Linked DNA regions of Homo sapiens: regions 2 and 3 are each linked to region 1. The links are contacts of gene promoters, found by promoter capture Hi-C in blood cells and fetal thymus (Javierre and others, 2016). All regions are on one chromosome and are shown on one strand. The core of a region is centred on a gene start or on the middle of the fragment in contact, and the rest is flanking DNA. Distances in the headings are between cores, read along the strand shown.

Region 1 (2,580 bases), core at 35-2,534:
AACTCCGTCTAAAAAAAAAAAAAAAGTATAATGGAGGCAATAGAGCCACAGGAGCAAAGCAGGGTGAAAAGCTTAATTTCACCAAGGTGGTGATCTGGGAAGGTTTCCAGAGGAAATTTTTATTTCCTCCAAAATAAAGTGTATATATATATATATACTTTATATATATATAAATATATTTTTTGTTGTTGTTGTTTTTGTTTATTTGTTTTGAGAGGAGGCCTCACTCTGTTGCCCAAGCTGGAGTACAGTGGCGAGATCTCGGCTCACTGCAACCTCTGCCTCCTGGGTTCAAGCAATTCTCCTGCCTCAGCCTCCCGAGTAGCTGGGATTACAGGCGTGCACCACCATGCCCAGCTAATTTTTGTACTTTTAGTAGAGACGGAGTTTCGCCAGGTTGGCCTGGGTGGCCTCGATATCCTGACTTCTGTTGCCCAGAGTGATCATGGCTCACTGCAGCCTCGACGACCTGGGCTCAAGTGATCCTCCCATCTCAGCCCCCAGAGTATCTGTGACTACAGTCACGTGCCACCACGGCCGGCCTCCTGTATTCTTATATGTATACAATATCTCACAATTAAAGGGTAAATAAATATAAGATCTAGTCAAGGGTATTGGGAGGACTGGCCTAGATATTTCTTTCACTAAACTAAATTTTAACTCTTAAGAAATGTTCACAATAAAATTGTTATCATAGTCCATAAAATCGGTCTTTTTAGTTGCCACAATTATAAGAAGTTGCATACAATTACAAGAGTAAAACAGAATTATAAGACAGCACGTTAGGTTTAAGATTTATGGCCGGGTGCGGCGGCTCACGCACTTTGGGAGCCCGAGGCGGGCGGATCGCACTTTGAGAGACCAGGAGAGCGGGACCCAGTCTCTACAAAATAAAAATAAAAATAAAATGTGGGGAGAGCGTGACGTTTTCCAGGTACAGAGGGGAGGTCCAGGCAGAAGCGCAGGTAGAAAGTGTGAATATGCTGAGCGTATTCCGGGAGCAGCAAGTTAAGCCGGTGTGACCGGAGGGAAATGGAGGCCTGGCTGCCGGACGGTGAGGGTGACTGCGCGAGCGTCCGCCCAAGAAGTCTCCCTGCCTTCCCGCCTTTCCCCTGTCTTGGGCCCCTTCTTGCTTTCCTTTCGCGCTCTGTGCTGACTCCGCCCCTCCGGCGGCGCCCGTGGCCCCGCCCCTGAGGGAAACAGACAAGGGGCGGGGCCGGCGCGGTCATCTCTCTGCGCCTTCCCGCAGGGCGCCGAGCACCTGGCGCCGCCTGCCTGACGTCACGGTCACTGACAGCGTGAGCCCGCGGCGGCTGCTGCCATGGTGGCTGGCGGCCGGGTAAGGGTCTGAGTGGATCTCCTGCCAGGCCAGAGCGCCTTCGGGGGCCGCGGCGGAAGGCCAGGAGTTTGCAGCCAGGGCGCCGGGTTTGTGGTCTGCAGTGTCGTGAGGCTGAGGTGGGGGTTGAAGGCCCAGAAGCCGGACTCTGTGACCCGGGTCGGGGGGTGTACTGGAGGGGCGGCTACGTCCAGGCTGGGTGAGAAGAGAGGCAGTGGGGCCCAGGAGGCTGGAGGAAGCCTTAGGGTTCAGACTGGGGTGCACGTAGTCGAGAGCTCAGGGTTTGGGCAAGGGGATACCTGCCGGGGTTCAGCCTTGAGGGTGGGTTTACCGGGTTCACGAATCTCTCTCTCTCCTTACCCCCGCCCGCCCGCCCGCCTGCCTGCTCCCGGTGACTTCTGCTGGCCGCAGGTGCAGCATGTCTAGACTGGGAGCCCTGGGTGGTGCCCGTGCCGGGCTGGGACTGTTGCTGGGTACCGCCGCCGGCCTTGGATTCCTGTGCCTCCTTTACAGCCAGCGATGGAAACGGACCCAGCGTCATGGCCGCAGCCAGAGCCTGCCCAACTCCCTGGACTATACGCAGACTTCAGATCCCGGACGCCACGGTAGGAGCCCGTCTCCTGAGACCGCGGTCACTGCAGACTAATGGGCCTGAGGTCTGGGCTGCTTTCGGTGGAGACTGTGGGACAGGGTAACGGAGAGAAGTGCTTTAGGGTTTCACTTTTTTGGAAGCTTGTTGAAAAAGCAGTCGTCGGGCTGGGCGCGGTGGCTCACGCCTGTAATCCCAGCACTTTGGGAGGCCGAGGCGGGCGGATCACCTGAGGTCAGGAGTTCAAGACCAGCCTGGCCAACGTTCAACCAGATGTCAACATGGTGAAACCCCATCTCTACTAAAAATACAAAAATTAGCCGGGCGTGGTGGCGCGGCCTGTAGTCCCAGCTACTGGGGAGGCTGAGGCACGAGAATCGCTTGAACCTGGTAGGCGGAGGCCGCAGTGAGCTGAGGTTGCGCCACTGCACTCCAGCCTGGGTGACAGAGTGGGACTCTGTCTCAAAAAAAAAAAAAAAAAAAAAGCAGTCGTGGTTTTCTCTACTCTTTCGCCTGTACTCACAAGAAAGTATATTTCAAAAAGACTGTTTAACTTTCACTTTTAGTTCTGGCCACAATAGTGCTATGTGGGTATTAAAGGCACTTGCTTAGTGTTGGGTGAGGTGTGTAATAAGTAGAGGAAGAGTCCAAAAGA
Region 2 (2,580 bases), core at 41-2,540, 230 kb after region 1:
CAGCAGCTGGCCAGGTACAGTGGCTCACTCTTGTAATCCCAGCACTTTGGGAGGCTGAGGTGGGTGGATCACTTAGTAGAGATGAGGTTTCACTATGTTGGCCAGGCTAGTCTCAAACTCCTGACCTTAGGTAAGTTCAGGAGTTGAAGACCAGCCTGACTAACATGGCGAAAACACACTCTCTACTAAAAATACAAAAATTAGCCAGGCGTGGTGGCATACTCCTATAATCCCCACTACTCGGGAGGTTGAGGCGGGAGAATCGCTTGAACCCTGGAGACCGAAGTTGCAGTGAGTGAGACTGCGCCACTGCCCTTCAGTCTGGGCAACAAGAGCGAAATAGTTTCAAAAAAAAAAAAAAAAAAGAAAGGAAAACCAGAAACCTGTGGCAGCACCTCTGAGTTATGCTGAGCAACTGTCCGTACTGCAAAGGTAGGGACTGTCCTCCTCAGGCTTTGCTGAGTGACATCTACATGCTTAATGGGCTTTACTCAAGTTACCCAAGTGTTTGAGAATAAACTAGAACCATCTGATATTTAAGCTCCCTGCCCAGTAACATTTAAAAAGCAGATGTACACCTAAATTAAAGGAAAGACGTTCTATGTTCATTGATCAGAAGACTTAACATGGTTAAGATGCCAGTTTTCCCCAAAATGATCTACAGATTCATTGCAATCTACAGCAAAATCACAGCTGGATTTTTTGGTAGAAATTGACAAGCTGATTCTAAAATTCATATAGAAATTCCAGGAATCCAGAATAGCCAAAACAGTCTTGAAAAAGAAGAACAAAGTTGGAGGGCTCACACTTCCTAATTTCAAAACTTCCTATAAAACCGTGGTAATCAAGACAGTGTGGTACTGCCATAAGGATAGACATAAAGCAATAGAATAGAATTGTGAGTCCAGAAGTATACCCTTTCATTTATGATTAATTGATTTTCAACAAGAGTGTCAAGACAATTGAATGGAGAAAAAAATAGTATTTTTAACAAATGGTGTTGGGACAACTGGATATACAACTGCAAAGGAATGAAATTGGACCCCTATCTGACACCCTACATGCCACATATTTCTTTTTTTCTCTTTTTTTAAATAATCTGCATTACTTTGGAGAAACCATATATTTCTTAGAAGAAATATAGGAAGAAAATATAGGAATAATATTTGTGACCTTGGTATGGGCCAAAGCACAAGTGACAAAAGAAAAAAATAGATAAACTGGACTTTATCACAATTATAAATTTTGGTGCTTCAAAGAACACCAATAGGAAGGTGAAAAGACAATTCACAGAATGGCATAAAATATCTGCAAATCAGATATCTGATAAGGGACTGCTGTCTAGAATTTATGAAGAACTTTAACAACTCAATCATAAAATGACAAATAACCCAATTAAACAATGGGCAAAGGATCTGAATAGACATAGCTCCAAAGAAGATACAGAAATGGCCACTAGCCATCATGGAAAGGCAAATCAAAACTACAATGAGATACCACTTAACACTCATTAGGATGGCTATTATCAAAAAGATAGACAATAACAAGAGTCTGCGAGGATGTAGAGAAACTGGAACCCTCATACATTGTTAGTGGGAACGTACAGTGGTGCATCCACTTTGGAAAACAGTCATATGATGCAGCAATTTCACTCCTAGGTATATCCCACACAAAAACGTGTATATGAATATTCATAGCAGCATTATTCATAGTAGCCCAAAGTGGAAATAACCCAAATATCCATCCATTGATGGATGGATAAATAAAATTCCATACAATGGAATATTATTTGGCACTACAAAGGAATGAAGTACTGATACATGCTACAACGTGGATGAACCTTGAAAACGTTATGCCAAGTGAGAAAAGTGTCACAAAAGACACGCGTTGTATAATCCCATCTATATGCAATGTCTAGAATATGCAAATATATAGGGGAAATGAGGAGTGACTGCTAATGGATATAGGGTTTCTTTTTCGGGGGTGATGAAAATACAGTTGACTCTTGAACAACACAGGTTTGAACTGCACTGGTCCACTGATAGACAAAGTTTCTTCTGACTGTGCCACCCCAAGACAGCAAGACCAACCCGTTTTCCTCCTCCTCCTCAGCCTACTCGACGCGAAGATGACAAGGATGAAGATCTTTATGATGATCCACTTCCACTTAATGAATAGTAAACATAGTTTTTTCTTTCTTATGAGTTTCCTGATAGCATTCCTTTTCTCTAGCTTACTTTATTGTAAGAGTATAATACATATAGCAGACAAAATATGCGTTAATCAACTGTTTATGTTATCACTAAGGCTTCAGGTAAACAGAAGGCTATTAGTAGTTAAGCTCTGGGGGAGTCAAAAGTTATACATGGATTTTTAGCTGCAGGGAGGCTGGCACCCCTAACCTCCACGTTGTTCAAGATTCAATTATATTCTAAAATTTATTCTGGTGATGTTGCAGAATTCTGTGAATATACTAAAAAATACTGAATTTTACACTTTAAACAATTTCATGAATTATGAAAAAGATTGTGCAAATGTCCACTTTTATAAACCATTGAAAATTTTCTTAATTGGAAAATG
Region 3 (2,580 bases), core at 32-2,531, 130 kb before region 1:
GCAATCTCAGCTCACAGCAACCCCCACCTCCTGGGTTCAAGCAATTCTCCTGTCTCAGCCTCCCAAGTAGCTGGGAATACAGGCGCGTGCCATCACGCCTGACTAATTTTTGTATTTTTAGTAGAGACGGGGTTTCACCATGTTGGCCAGGCTGGTCTCGAACTCCTGACCTCAAGTGATCCACTCACCTCGGCCTCCCAAAGTACTGGGTTTACAGGCATGAGCCACCGCGCCAGGTCTATTTTTATTTATTTATTTTTAACTTCCAGAACCCACCAATACTACTTTATATTATTACTCAGATTGTTCCTGTTTGGGCCACTAGAGTCTCTCTTTTTTATTTTATTTTATTTATTATTATTATTTTTTGAGACGGAGTCTGGCTCTGTCACCAGGCTGGAGTGCAGTGGCGCAATCTTGGCTCACTGCAACCTCTGCCTCCCTGGTTCAAGTAATTCTCCTGCCTGAGCCTCCTGAGTAGCTGGGACTACAAGGGCGCACCACCACGCCCAGCTAATTTTTGTATTTTTAGTAGAGACGGGTTTCACCATGTTGGCCAGGATGGTCTCGATCTCCTGACCTTGTGATCTGCCCGCCTCGGCCTCCCAAAGTGCTGGGATTATGGGCATCAGCCACTGTGCCCTGCCGGAGGCTTTTTCATTGATGCCTGTGTCCATTTGAAGTACAGCAGTTCCCCCTTATCTGTAGTTTTGCTTTCTGGGCTTTCAGTTGCCTGCAGTCAATAGCAGTCTGAAATAGGTGTGGATAATAGAATAATATATTTTGAGAGAGTGAGAACACATTCACCTAACTTTTATTTATTTATTTATTTTTGAGATGGAGTCTTGATCTGTTGCCCAGGCTAGAGTGCTATGGTGCAATCTCGGCTCACTGCAACCTCCACTTCCTGGGTTCAAGCAATTCTCCTGCCTCTGCCTCCCGAGTAGCTGGGACTACAGGCACCCACCACCATGCCTGGCTAATTTTAGTATTTTTAGTAGAGACGGGGTCTCACCATGTTGGCCAGGCTGGTCTCCAACTCATGACCTCAGGTGATCTGCCCACCTCAGCCTCCCAAAGTGTTGGGATTATAGGTGTGAGCCACCGCACCCAGCCTCACATAACTTGTTTGTTTTTTTTTTTTTTGAGACGGAGTTTCACTCTTGTTGCCCAGGCTGGAGTGCAATGGCGCTATCTCGGCTCACCACAACCTCCGCCTCCCGGGTTCAAGTGATTCTTCTGCCTCAGCCTCCCGAGTAACTGGGATTACAGGCATGTGCCACCATGCCCAGCTAATTTTGTATTTTTAAAAGTAGAGACAGGGTTTCTCCATGTTGGTCAGGCTGGTCTCGAACTCCCGACCTCAGGTGATCTGCCTGCCTTGGCCTCCCAAAGTGCTGGGATTACAGGCATGAGCCACCTCATCTGGCCTACATAGCTTTTATTACAGTCTGTTGTTATAACTGTCCTATATTATTATTGTTGTTAATCTCACAGTGGGCCTAATTTATAAATTAAATTTTATCACAGGTTATGTATAGGGAAAAACAGTCGTCATGTCTCCTTGGACTGCTCTTGACTGGCAGTTTTTAAGTTTTTCAGATATTCCTTGTTTTTGATTACCTTGATAATTTTGAGTACTAGGCAAGTATTTTGTTGAATGCTCTCTGTTGGAATTCATTTAATTTTTTTTCATGTTTAGACTAGGGCTATTTATGGTTTGGGGAGATAAAGAACCATTATCAACACCTCTCTATTATATCGAGGATACACACTATCAACATGATTTATCATCATGACTGATCACCTGACCAAGATAGTGCTTGTCAGGATTCTCCACTACAGAGTTACTCTTTTCCCTCCTTTCCATGCTGTACTGTTTGGAAGGAAGTCACTACACACCTACACACCCTGCACTTAAGGGGTGGGAGTTTTTGCTTCCTTGAGGGTGAAGTATCTGCATAAATCCTTTGGAATTCTGGCATTCTGGCCAGACATGGTGGTGCACACCTGTAGTCCCAGCTACTCGGGAGGCTGAGCCTGAAGAATCGCTAAGCAGAGGTTGCAGTGAGCTGAGATTGTGCCACTGCACTCCAGCCTATGTGACAGAGTGAGCCTGCTGTCTCAAAAAAAAAAAAAAAAAAAAAAAAGACTTACTAAGAAAGAAAACCTAGCAGTCCTTTGCCCCATCCCCAGTTAAATTCCATCTGTTTTCATTGCTCAGAGCCCCAGTCACGCTGATCTAAGGATGTTTCCAAAATGCACCACACCCATTTGGACATTAGAGTGTCTGGTGTTGAGGATTTGCTCCCTCTAGAATGGCTTCCCTGATACTCCTCCCCTTGCCAGGACCAGGCCCCTGTCTTCTCTAATTCTCACCAGACAGGGAAAAGTGTCTCTAGCACACCACTTCCTGGCACAGGGCCTAGCACAGTTGTTGGCTTCCATTAAAATATGCTGAGGAAAGAAGACCCTTGGCCTGTTCAGAACAGCTCTCCACGCCCTTCTTTCTTCTCCTTCATGTTTGGCTCCCTTCTGCATGTGTCTAAACCTACCTGAATCGCCCCAATTCTCAAAAAG

What was found. Contacts are between HindIII fragments. The CHiCAGO score rates a contact against its expected background, and 5 or more counts as called.
Region 2: a contact is called between a fragment that was not itself captured here and the fragment with the promoter of RMDN3 in region 1, in 1 of 17 cell types (naive B cells). The highest score is 5.0, in naive B cells.
Region 3: a fragment that was not itself captured here is called in contact with the fragment with the promoter of RMDN3 in region 1 in 1 of 17 cell types (endothelial precursors); the score reaches 6.4 in endothelial precursors.

What each region holds. Positions count from the first base shown.
Region 1 is chr15:40,753,958-40,756,537 of GRCh38, reverse strand. RMDN3 (regulator of microtubule dynamics 3) reads left to right here and starts at 1,284. Exons shown (of 13, transcript NM_018145.3): 1 at 1,284-1,455; 2 at 1,748-1,941. The coding sequence starts at 1,755. RefSeq lists enhancers at 824-933, 1,024-1,143, 1,354-1,563 and a silencer at 1,679-1,893. The HindIII fragment of the contact is 1,997 bases long and covers 74-2,070 here.
Region 2 is chr15:40,520,614-40,523,193 of GRCh38, reverse strand. It overlaps a transcript of CCDC32 not described here. Among named protein-coding and RNA genes, the nearest start is that of CCDC32, 43 kb to the left of the region's middle. The HindIII fragment of the contact is 7,648 bases long and covers 1-2,580 here.
Region 3 is chr15:40,886,479-40,889,058 of GRCh38, reverse strand. No RefSeq gene overlaps it. Among named protein-coding and RNA genes, the nearest start is that of VPS18, 6.7 kb to the left of the region's middle. The HindIII fragment of the contact is 3,310 bases long and covers 1-2,580 here.